Linked DNA regions of Homo sapiens: region 2 is linked to region 1. The links are contacts of gene promoters, found by promoter capture Hi-C in human tissues and cell types (Jung and others, 2019). All regions are on one chromosome and are shown on one strand. The core of a region is centred on a gene start or on the middle of the fragment in contact, and the rest is flanking DNA. Distances in the headings are between cores, read along the strand shown. Region 1 holds the start of IGSF9 (immunoglobulin superfamily member 9). Region 2 overlaps KCNJ10 (potassium inwardly rectifying channel subfamily J member 10).

The links. The method cuts DNA at HindIII sites, captures the fragments that hold promoters and counts their contacts. A contact is called where the count stands out against the background at its distance.
Region 2: a contact is called between a fragment that was not itself captured here and the fragment with the promoter of IGSF9 in region 1, in 3 of the 25 tissues and cell types used here (hippocampus, mesendoderm cells and neural progenitor cells).

The regions. Positions count from the first base shown.
Region 1 is chr1:159,943,661-159,949,777 of GRCh38, forward strand. It overlaps IGSF9 (immunoglobulin superfamily member 9), which reads right to left and starts at 1,953. Exons shown (of 21, transcript NM_001135050.2): 1 at 1,913-1,953. LOC124904438 (a long non-coding RNA gene) reads left to right here. Exons shown (of 3, transcript XR_007066684.1): 2 at 2,492-2,792. RefSeq lists a silencer at 1,939-2,233 and an enhancer at 2,076-2,576. The HindIII fragment of the contact is 11,911 bases long and covers 1-3,590 here.
Region 2 is chr1:160,055,418-160,061,534 of GRCh38, forward strand. All of the region lies in intron 1 of KCNJ10 (potassium inwardly rectifying channel subfamily J member 10), which reads right to left. Among named protein-coding and RNA genes, the nearest start is that of KCNJ10, 12 kb to the right of the region's middle. The HindIII fragment of the contact is 4,727 bases long and covers 1,315-6,041 here.

The DNA of each region.
Region 1 (6,117 bases), core at 703-3,202:
TGGCCAATACTGGAGCCCAGAAGAAACCCCACCATTAGAGAAAGGCACTGGGAAGAGAAAGGAGGGAGGAGTGTAGTTAAGTGAGGGGTAGGGGGAAGGGGGGGATCTTGAAGCCCTGGGGAGTAAGAGCAGGGGTAGGAGTACTGGGAGAATGGTGAGTGCTGAATGCAGATACTAGAAAGGTGAGGAAATGGGGGAGGCTGGGAGAGTTGGGAAGGTCTTAGGAAATGTGGAAGGATTCTGGGGATGCCTGCATTCTGAGGGTCTTGAAAAACTAAGCCAGAAGAGAACTGGGGTTCCTCATATGCTTGGAAAAATATTTTTGAAGGAAGTATGGTAGATCAAGACTCTCATGGCCTAGGCTGCTCTCGCTTCTTTCCTTACTCTTGATGCTCACAAGGTATAGCAGCAAGATGGAACCAGTGCTGTCGCCTTCACCCCTCTGTGACAAATAAGGGCCCTGAGGATATCTGCTCAGGGGCAGAGAGCCAGTCAAGGGCAAATCCAGGGCGCTTAAGCCTCAGAAAGTGGTCCCCAGGACACCCCGATACAATCCCTTGTCCCATTTCCCCAGCCTCTATGAAAAACTCTGGAAGCTGAGGACCCGAGGCCTTTCTCCATTCAGTCTCCCTACACTGCTTTGGCAGTGAGTGAGTCAGGCACTTGGGAGAGGAGGAGCTGCCTCCCCCACCTGCCAGTATGGGGGATCCAGGCAGCATCCTCCAGGTCTGGACAGGTCCCGGGGCTGGCAGCTGGCGCCACTTCCTCACGATACTGCCAAGCAGCCCTCCCCCTGCCAGGCACCACCACCCAAGGACCTCACCCAAATCCCTCCCACTCACTCCCCTCCAATATCTTCGGGGTGCCAGGGTTTGTCAAGCTCTTTCTTCCCCAACCCCAGAGGCATGGTCCAAAAAAAAGCCTGTGAGTCCCTGAAGTGTACAAAATTAACCCTGGGGCATGGAGGGTAGGAGCTTCTGACAGCCCCACAGATCCTAGGGCAGTCTCAGAGAGCCAGAGGGTCCATGCCAGGGCCTGGCACTGCCAAGTGGACTCTGCTCTGAGTCCTCCAACCCACTCTTGGCCGCAAAGTTCAGGACAGACTATAAAACATCCTCCACAGAGTCTGATCCTTGCCTCTACTTAATGATCCTGTATGTCTAACTTCTGGCAATTCACTAGCAACCAAGCCCCCTGTTTCCCACTGCCTCCAGGCAGCTCTCCCACACTTCCCTGAAAAACCTTTTTCCAAGTATATAGGAACCCCCTAGTTCTCTCCTGGTTGTTTTCCGAGACTCTGAGTAACTAGGCATCCCTAGAATTCCTCCCAGTCTCTTAATATCTTTCCAACTCCCCCGGCCTCCACTATTTCCTCACCCTTCTAGTCTCCCCACACACCACTCCCTCGTCCTCCCATTACTCCCTTCCCAGTTATCGCTACTACGCACAATCCCCCCACAATTCCAGCTTCTCGCACCTGATCTCCAATTGCAGCAGGTCTCCTGCACTATAAAGAACTCCCTTCTGGTCTCCCCACCCCCCAGCCACTTCTCCCCATCCTCTCCTCCCGATAATTCCCCTCCCTGGGATTCTCCTGCATCAGCCCACAATACAATTCTGATACCCCACCCCCAACAATTCCTTTCTCCCTCGCATTCTCTGGTCCCCTGGAACTCCTCCTTTCTCTTAGAACCCACCAAGAACTCCCCCACATTGCCTCCAGAACTCCTGCAGTTCTCCGGGAACTCCCACCCACCCGCCAAGAATTCCACTTCACTCCCCAGAACTCCCCTAGTTCTACTCCTGCAACGAATTCCACTTCTCTCTAGAACTCCCCGCTTTCTCCTGTCCCCCATAACTCCGCACTACCAGCACCACCACTTCTATACCTCCAGTACGCCCCCTCCCTCACCTGCTCCGCACCGCTCGGCTCCACTCTCGCCGCTACACAATAGGGGGCGGACCCGCCTCCCCGCCTCGGATGCCCCGAGCGCCTCCCGTCGCCCTGGAGACCGCCAATCCCCCTCCCGCGGCGGCCAATTGGAGCCGCCAGAGGCACGGCGAGGCGGGCGGGACCCCTGAGCGGCCTGGGAGTTGTAGTTTCAGGAGGGAAGAGCTCGGCTGCACGTGGGCTCAGGTCGCCCCCTCGTGGACCTCTGCACAGCCAAGCGTGGAAAGGCCGGTGGGCCGCTTCCCGCCGCCAGCAAGAGGGGCAGCAGGGTCCGGCTCGCGCTCCAGGGCTGCGGGAGCTGGCCCCTTGCCAGGCTACTGGTACGCCGTCCTTCTTTCGGAACCTACGGGCGACCCTCTCCGCTCCCCGAACGGGCGCGCCACAGAGGCGGCAGCGAGGGTTGAAATCTGAGCCTGGGGGTAGGAGAACCAGGCGGGGAGCATGACTCCCCGCCCTCCTCCCAGGGGATCCACCCAGGTCCCGGGCTCATCCGATCTCCTCCCCCATCCCCATTTCTACCTCCACCCATTGCTTCTCTAGCAGGACTGGAAATACCTGTCTGCATTGGCGAGCTCCCAAATCTTGCCCAGGCGCCTCCCACCGTGTGCAGCTGAGGAAGGCTGTGCTCTGAGCGTGGGGTTGCCAAGTCAGCTCCCAAGGCAGCTCTGGCACCAACGACCCAGAGAAACAGGCCCAGAGGGGAGAAACGACAGATATCCTGACACGGGAGATTGAAAGGGAGGAATGAAATACAAGATCACTTACTGGACCCATGCAGGGTGCCAGACCCTGGACTAGATGCTTTATAACTCTTGTGTAACCTTCACAGAAACCCTGCGAAGTAAGTAGAGCTCCCTTTGACTAATGAGAAAACTGAGGCTCAGGGAGATGAAGTAACTTGGCCCAAGCTTTCCCAACTAGGTTATGGCAGAGCTGGATTGAGACCCAACCCAAACTTCATCAAACCTACTCCCTTGGAGGCTTCGCCCTCAGACACAAAGATATCTTGCATATCTTGCCCCTCAGAGATTCCACCTCCTCAGCCTGGTGATGCTGTAGGGATGCTGGGTCGGCTTAAGCAACATTGCCTGTCCAGGTCCTTCCCATTCAGTTGGCTCCCTTGGAAGCCTTCCATGAAAGCAACGTGCTGATCTCATCCCAATCCGAAGTACTAAGACTCAAACTGAGTGCACCAGGCATCAGACTCACAGAATCACTGCTGCAGCATCATGAGAGAACCTCCAGGATGGGCCTAAGCACTACTTGGCCCCAGAATCCCTGGCACATCATTTCTCCATGTAGTCATCCAAGCCCCTATCTCATTACATCCTGGGCCAGGAAGCTCAGCACTACTGTTGTACCCATTCCATCCTTAGTAAGCTCTGCCTGCTGGACAGTTCTTCCAGGTGTAAAGGTTTTAGTGCTTTTGGGTGACTGAGATGGAAGGGAAGAGGCAGGAGCAGTGGGCCAGTCTCTCCCACCATCCCTCCTGCAAATAGTCCCAAAGTAGCAGCTTTTCAACAATGCATTTCAACATAATACCCTGATCTATTGATAAGACTATAATGGAAACATGTTAATGAATGCAGCATGGAAGCAAGGCTAGAAGAAATGGTAAAAGAGTGAAGCGGGTTTTTTGTTTGTTTGTTTTTTTGTTTTGACAGAGTCTCACTCTATCGCCCAGGCTGGAGTGCAGTGGTGCAATCTCGGCTCACTGCAACCTCCACCTCCCGGGTTCAAGCGATTCTCCTGCTTCAGCCTCCCAAGCAGCTGTGATTACAGGCGGCCACCACCATGCCTGGCTAATTTTTGTATTTTTAGTAGAGATGGGGTTTCACCATCTTGACCAGGCTGGTCTTGAACTCCTGACCTCATGATCCACCCACCTCGGCCTCCCAAAATGCTGGGATTACAGGTGTGAGCCACTGCCCCCGGCCGAGCCAAGTGTTTTTTAGTCTTTGGATCTTTACCAATCATTGGGAAGGATCTCCCTCCCCGCTGTTAGAATTGGCCACACCTTTGATCTAAACTGCTGTCTCCAGTGGTTTCTTGAGGATAAACTAATCTCATTTAGACATTAAAATAACTTTCTGTTAAATGACATTTAAAATGGTTTTCAATTTTTAAAAGTTTATGATATGGCCTTTTTTTTCTGGAAACTTATTTTGTGACTTTTATTGTTATTGCCATTTTTTGTCTGATTTATATGTATATTGGAGATTTTTTGTTAAGAAAAGGAACCTAGCCCTATAACTTGTTCCCTCACTGTGCCAGGAGTGAAAGCTGATTTAAAAAATAGTCCCTGAGGTTCAAAACAAAAGACTTTCCTCTAGGTTGTCCTTGATTCATAGTCATTACTCTCTGGGAAAGCTTATTCAACCAACGAGGATTCCACCTAACCTAAGTATCAGGCAGCCCCCATATTTTCAAATTGCTGACAAGGATATCAGAAAATATTCTCTCTCTCCCCCTCCTCCTCCTCCTCCTCTTCTTCCTCCTTCTTCTCCTTCTCCTGCTTTCTTCTTTCCTCTTTCCTCCTCCTCCTCCTTCTCCTCCTCCTCCTCTGCTGCTGCTTTTCCTCCTCCTCCTCCTCCTCCTCCTCCTCCTTCTCCTTCTTCTTCTTTTCTCTCTCTGTCTCTCTCTCTGTCTCTCAGAGCTGGGGTATTCTCCTCCTCTTGCCTTTGAACATCAAAACTCCAGGCTCTCCAGACTTGGGACTGTGAGTTATACCATTGGCCTCCCTGGTTGTGAGGCTTTTGGAGTTGGACTGAGCCACACTTTTGCCATCCCAGGGCCTTCTTTGTGCATGTTGTAGGACTTGGCCTCCACCATCATGTAAGCCAATTCCCCTAATAAATCCCATCTCATATTTCTATATCTGTATCTATCTATCTTATTGGTTCTGTCTTCCTGGTGTATACCTAATATTTCAGCAGGCCTTGGGAAGAAAGGACCTGAGCTGCTCCATAGCCCTGCACAAAGAAGATGGTGTGACCTCAGAGATGTCTGCTTGGCATCGTTAAGCACAGGTGTTCCTAATCAGCAAAGTTTCTCATTGTCTATAGATAAGCAGAGAATTACTTGATATCAAATGAACCCTGAAAGGTGGAACACATGGGCTTTTAGTAGTGACCACATTTGATGTGTTAACATTGCTTGTACCAATTAAGCACCACATAACTATCCCATATTCTAGAATAGAAAGGGTGGCTTTAATAATCGATAATAGGGATGTTGTTAATCAGGCATATATTAAGTTATATCTGAGTTAAAAAAGAAAAGAAAAGATTGTCATCCAGGGACTCTGTTGACCACATGCCTGTAAGCAGCAGTCTTATTACCAGATCCGTAAAGAAGTGCGGTTTCTCATATATTGTCATTTAACTTTTTGTGTGCCTATCTTCTATCCCAATGAAACACTTAGCCCCACAAGGGTGTGGATATTGTCCTGTTTGTCTTTGAATTCCTGCTTCAGAAAGGCCCTGCTTACTTTTCCAGCCTGGTTTCTCACTTATCCCTTTATCGCAGTGTGCATGACTTTGCAGGCCTTAGAACTACTGTGCTCTTTCACATACCAGTGTCTTAGCACTTAGCTTCTGTCTCGATAGAATGCCCTTTTCTCCTTTCCAGACTCACTGCTGGCCACAGGTCAAATTTCTGTTGATCTGTTCCCTTCAGGACACATTCCGTGACTTTTCCCACCACGCCCTCACCTTCACCCCAGCCCTTTTCCTACCTTGTTATTGTATCTTTACACACTCCACAAAACATTCCTTGAAGGCAGAGGTGTCTCTTCTGCCTCCCCAGTGCTTGCCAAGTTCCTGGCATATTGCAGAGGTAGCGGCTTGTGCCTCTCTGAGTTTATATTCAACTTTCTTTAAGATCTCATCCTTCCTCTTCCAGAAGCTCGGCCTCTTTTGAGGCCTCAACCCTTCTCTGCTCAGAGATCGGCTGTAAGAAGAAGGAACTTTGCCAACTTCCAGGGAAATCCCTGGGCCTATCATACATTCATTCCTTTATTTATTCATCCTTTTGTTTACTTTCTATGAATTCAATCCTGCAATAACATGAGAAATGAGCTGCCTCTTTATGTGCAAGATGGACTCAAGGTGGCCTTTCCAGTCAGTCCCCATCCCTGCAGTGGTGCCTCCTAGGAAAGATATAAA
Region 2 (6,117 bases), core at 2,428-4,927, 110 kb after region 1:
AGACTGATGACTGACCGGTCTGTTCTTAACACTCTCTTTTGGCTTTTATTGAGGTGTGGTGGGAATCCACTGATTTTATCTACCTTGATTAGCCATTAAGTAGCTCTGCCATTTCTAGGTTTTGTGATTTGGGGCAAATCACTTAAATGCATGAGTTTCTATTTCCCTTATCTGCAAAAGGGGCATAATAATACAGAGGTGACGGGAGAGTTCCATGTGATCATATGTGTGAGAACACTGCATGGGTTGTGAACACTACATGTGTGCACAGTCTCACTGTTACTCTCGGACACCATGTTCTCGGGGTTCTTTCTCTACCTCTGTGTTTACTTTGGATCATCTCTCTTGCTGTAATCTCTCCTCTGCACCTTAACTGTTGGTGTTTCTCAGGAATCCATCCACTCTTGACTCTCATCCTTGATCACTGTACTCCATCTTCCTCAACTGTTTCCCCCGTTCCGTGGATTCCACGTCACCTCTGCCCTGGGTGTCCAAGTACTTACAGGCTCCCGCTACCTGGAGCATTCCAATTTTAACATGTTCAGACTCAGCGTCCTGTCTCCTCAGAAGAGTCTCTTTTGTGTTTTCCTTCTTGTTCACAGAATTACCCTCCACTAGGTGCCCAAGCCTTAGAATTACCCCTGCTTTCTCTCTTCCCCCTCATCTGATTGGTAACTAGGTCCATCATTTCTGCCTTCATGACTCCTCTTCATGTCCATGGAGGCTGCCCTAGTTCATTCACTTGAAGTGTTGCAATGGTCTCCTGGTTCTCTTGCACCCAGGCTCACTGTGCTCATCTCGGTCCTCGGCTGCCTCAGTGCACACATTCTGACCCCATCACTTGGCTTTAAAATCTTCAAAAAGTTCCCACAGCTTTCGTGATAAAATTCAAACTTCTTGGCAAAATCCTTCAATGTCTGACTCCACCTTACTGTTCACAGCCTCCCCTGGAATATTTTCCCTGTGCAGCCCATATTCTAGCCACGTGAAACATAGCCTGTGCTCCACTTGTCTGTCTCCCTGTCTTTGCTCGGGCAGCTCGCTCTACCTAGAACATCCTCTGCCTGCTCCAAGACTCCCCTCCAGACTGCTGTCTTCCCTTTCAAATCCCCTTCCTCCTTCAAGGCCCTTCCCCAGTGCTCTCTCCACTGTGGAGCCTTCCCCACCTCCCAGGTAGAAATAGTTACTCTCCCTCTATGTTCCCGGGACATTTGCCACATCATCCTTTGTTCTCCTCTAGAGATTGTGAGCTCTTTGAAGGCACAGACTGTATTTTAGTCACCTTTGTAAGCTGTTACCTTTAAATTTAACCTAATTGGTTAGTAAAGAGGGAGGAATTAGAATCTCTGGGTGATTCTGGGCTAGGAATGTCAACTATACAGCATGTGAGCCATCACTCATCACCCCACCACCCCTTAGCAGATAACACTAATTCATCACAGTGCTTTTTATCTGACTGAGCCTCAGAATCATCCTCAATATGGTGATACAGAGAGTCATTTTCAATCAAATGGAGTTAGCCCAACAAATGAAACCTATTTCTTATCCTGGCATGTCTGAGTCACAAAGGTCCCTATGTATTCTCCTTTCCCGCTATTTGCCATCCTGTCTGTGTCACTTACTAGCTAGGGGAACTTCAGTCAATCTCTTAATCTCTCTAGAGCTCAGCTTCCTCATCTAAGGAGGCAATAAAACCTTCCACTATGTGGTCAGGATTACAAGATTTAAAGTATATGAAATCTGTAAGGCCCTTATGCAAATAAAGATGTTATTATCCTACTTTGCAGATGAATGAAAAATATTACTGAATCAGAGAAACTAAGGTTCAGAGACATAAAGTCACTTGCTGACGTTTATTTAATGGCAAAGCCAGACCCCATGTCTCCAAATCCTGTGGGCTTTTCCCTCACGTTGCCTCTCCACACCCCAGTGGCCTTGATGATGCTCAAGTTACACCATCCCTTCGATCTCCTTTCTCCAGGTGAGTTGTGGGGTAAGATTTACTCTAGCCCCAGAATTGAAGGGGACTTCCAACCCACTATTCTTTATCCCACCTCTCTATAATTCCTCCAAAACCCTCTCAGCCTGCCAAGAGGTGGGCAAGTGTGTGCTGAAGACTGCTGAGTAGAGCCAAGTTCCTTAATTACTATCCCTCAGCCTCTCGCCCTCTTGTCTGCCCCCAGCCTCAGGAGTATCAGGCAGCTGGCAGCCTTCTCAAGGCCTAGGATGGCCAGGGCCCTGGAGATAATGTTCTTGGGCTGAAGGCTAATGAGTTGTCACCTGATCTACCAGAAGAGTTTGAGAAACTAGGGAGGGTATGATGAGACCTATTCCTTGGAGTCCCAGGGCCAAGACAGGGTTCTCCACCTGAGAGAAGGGCGGGGGAGGCTGACCAGATCCCAGCTGAAGGGCCCTTCTCTGTACACTTTCCTGTCTTTGAACTTGAAGTGGTGTTGGCTGGAAATGAGGGGAGGCTTGGACCTAGGGGGTGGAGGGCCCAAGAGGTAGTGGCGGGTAGGGGAGGCAGAAGAGCTACTCCCCATTGTGAGAGCACCCCCAGGGCCAACTCCTGTAGAGGCTGTTTCATCAGCTCTGTGCCTTCCAGGAAGGACCATCCCCATCTTCCCAAACAGAGAACCTTTTCTGGACTGCTTCTTAATCTGTATTTTGTTCATCTTTGTGTCCTTCTCAGTGCCTGGCATTTCTTGACTTTAAAGAGCCTGTAGGATTGATGTTCTACATCACTTTTCCTCCTTCAGGCCCCCTTTTCCATGTGCCACCCACTTCATCCTTCGGAAGTCCTTCCTCTGAGCTTCCCATTGAAGTTTCAACGTTTGGACACTTGGGGGCACTGAGTCAGTTTCCCTAGCTCTTCTCTGCAGGCTGTGCTCAGCCCCACCCTGTCAACACTCTCCCTACTCTCTACAATGAGAGGGGCAGATGGGGAAACTGAGGCCCACTGTGGGAGTGCTTAGTAGGAGTGCCTCAGTGATAAAATCCAGGGTCTTCTGTGGAAGGCACATCTCTCTCTAGTGGTGAGAAAGGACAGAGGCAGAAAACTTCAGGCCTAAGCCAAAACTTGTCCAGAGGCAGACAACTCTGAACTTAAAGCTTCTTCCTGCACTGGCCAGGTCGTCCTAGGGGAGCCCAATGCTTCCTTGTGCTCGTGTGACCAAGGACAAGAGAAATTAGTCTTGGGAGAAAGGATGAATGAAAAGTAGGAAGAAGAGGAGAGGAAGTGGAGGGACCCTATCTCTGAAGTCCCTAGAATTACTGGTGGAACAGAGTCCTTTATGACCTGGTCTCTGCTGACCTCCCTAGCATCAGTGTTCTCTATCTGTACCCACCCACTTCACGCATGCATCATGTCCCCAGCCACACAAAACCTCTCGGTTCTTGAACAGACCAAGCTTTTCTTAGCAAATAATGGGGTCTCTTCCATGGAACACTCTTCCTTTCCCACTTTGCTTAATTTCTACTCCTCCTTCAGGCTTCAGCTTAGATGTCACTTTCTCTGGAAAGCCTTTCTGGATGCCCCCACCCACAACATGGGCTGCTATCCCCCTGTGTTCCCACAGTACCATGAACTTCCTACCTCAGGCTTTACGGTGCGCCAGGCATTGTGCTGGACGCTCCATGCCGTGCTTCATCCTAGCCTCCCTAGGGGGGCAATAGCATTGCCCTCAGATGAACGGGTGGAAACTAGACTTACATGGGTTAACTAACTTGCCCAGGAGGACTGCTCGTAAGGGGTGCACTGCAAGTTGAACCCAGGCCTGCTTAAATCTGCTTAAAGTCTGGGCTTCTCAACTTGCTACTGGACTGTGTCACAGAGTATTCATGCTGGGAAGTCCTCTATGGTCATCACGTTTAATACCCACATTTTACTAAAGAGGAAGCCAAGGCCTAGAAGAGGGGGGTAACTTTCCCAAGATCACACTGCTAGCTGGTAGCTCATGTTATTTTACATCAGAATCAGAGCAACAACCCTGGTCTTCTTCTTCATCTCAACTTATCTCTTCCTACAAGATCCTTTTCCTCACCCTGGGGTCCAAAAGTGCCAGTTTCTGTGGAGCCAACCTTGGAGCATTATCCACAGAAACTCTTCCCCAGCCAACCACAGCCACAGCCACAGCCCATTATCTTCAATCTGGGCCTCCCACCTAGTAGGTCTCAGGGTCTCCCTCACCCCTGCAGAAGCTGGCCCAACAAGAAGAGTTAGAATAAGCAGCAAATAGTGAGGTCCACGAGGAGGAGACATTCAGCAATGCTCTTACTGGGGTCTGTGGAAATGATCAAGGGATTCCTTTGAGGCCGCTGGAAACCCCACAGGGGCTCTGAGAGTCATTGGAACTATCTTCCAGGCCACTCAAGCTTTGTTCAGTAGGTGACTAAAGGGGGACTTTTCCTTCTCATCAAGGCAATGAGTTCTCCACCTCTTTCTGTCCCTCCCCTTATGCCCAGGGAATTCTTCCAGTTAAGTCAAAATTTACCTGTTGCTATCTGAGCAATTTCTTCCTATTTGTACCCTTAATGGAGCTGGAGACACAGAGGTACTCTGTACCTGTCATTCATATTCAGAAAATTGAGCCTGTTTCCCTGACAGGTGTCCTCTCAGCTCCCTTTCCTTCTTGGGGCTCCTGTTCCCTGCATGAAGAGCAGCCTCTGACCCTCACTCAGAGGAGTCTAGGGAGCTCACCATGACTCTGGGAGGCAATCTCTCTGCCCCCTCTCAACTTTTTACTTATTCCTTATCCACATTCCTCCCTTAAGAAGGAGGATGGGGTAGGGATGGCATGAGGACACTTACTAGATACAGAACTAGATTCAGAGGTGAGTGTCTCACTGTCCTCTGTCTCCTATAGTAACTAACTGCCCGAGCACAGCAGGGAAAGCTGAAGTTACATACATTGAGCAGTTCTCTTTCTCCAGTAGGGAACATTTGGAGCAAAAGAATCACACCAGAGTATAAGGGCTGGGGGAGGTGTGTTCCTGCATGAAGGAAGACAGATGGATGAGGCGGCTTAAGGAGAATCCAGTAGCCAGAGGGGAAGCATTTTAGATGAGGGGAAAGGAGAAGGAGTAGAAGGGCCCTGAGGTTCTCCCATGCAATTTTGATGGGAGGAAACATCATGGAGATTAGCACTCAATAATATTTGCTGATGAGCAAACCAATATCAGCTTAGTTCTCTATCTAACAGAGTTTCTGCAACTGTGACCCCATCCACCCTCCCAGGCCCCAGCACACCACTGTGCAGTCAGCCCTCAAGTCTCTGGGATCCCAATGGGCCTTCCTCTCTTCCCTTTTTAGGGCATCTGCTCCCAACTGCTAGAAGATGCTCTGGACCAGAATAGCAGGTGAGCCGTAGATACAGCCTACAGATCCTCGTGCAGACGTAGGATAATAACTGGAAAGGCCAGTACTAGGCAGCATGAAGGACTTATAATTGATAGAGATCCCCAACTCCAAACCCTAGCTAAGAAGGCTGTGGGGTTACTTTCCAGTGATCCAGAGTTCGTAGCAGGAGTGGGGCCGGTAGGAGGGTGGGAAGTGAAAGGAGGTAGGCTCACTCTGCCTAGGGGTAGTGCAAGGGTCAAAGTGACCTTCGGAGGTTCTTTCTAGACCCAGAAGCCCACTTAAGGCTCCTAGACCCGTTCTTCTCCCCACCCCTTCCCCTCACCATGCCCCCACTCCTTCCCAAAAAAAGGTGGCTAAAAGACAGCTCTGTTGGAATTGTAGATAGGGTTGGGGGTGGGGTCATCTGAGTGAAACCAAGAGACAAATAGTTGGGGGAAAAACACAAAAAAACTAGCGGTGAGAGACCTCCATTCTAGTCCCAGACTTGCCACCAGCTGCCTGGACACCATCATCTTACCTCTCAGAGCCTTGCTGGGAAAATGATAACTGTTCCATCTACCTCCCAGGGCCAGGAAGGGCTAGGAAATATCTATGTGCCCTGGGCAAATGCAAAGACGGACACACTGGACCTGTGCCAGCGAGGCCAGGTGGGGCTTTAGTTATTCACATAGAGCTCAGTCCAGGGTACTTGACTCAGCTCTGGGGTGGGGGGCCTGGCCCACCTAACTGCTTCCATGGTTGAGGCAGGAATGGGAGCA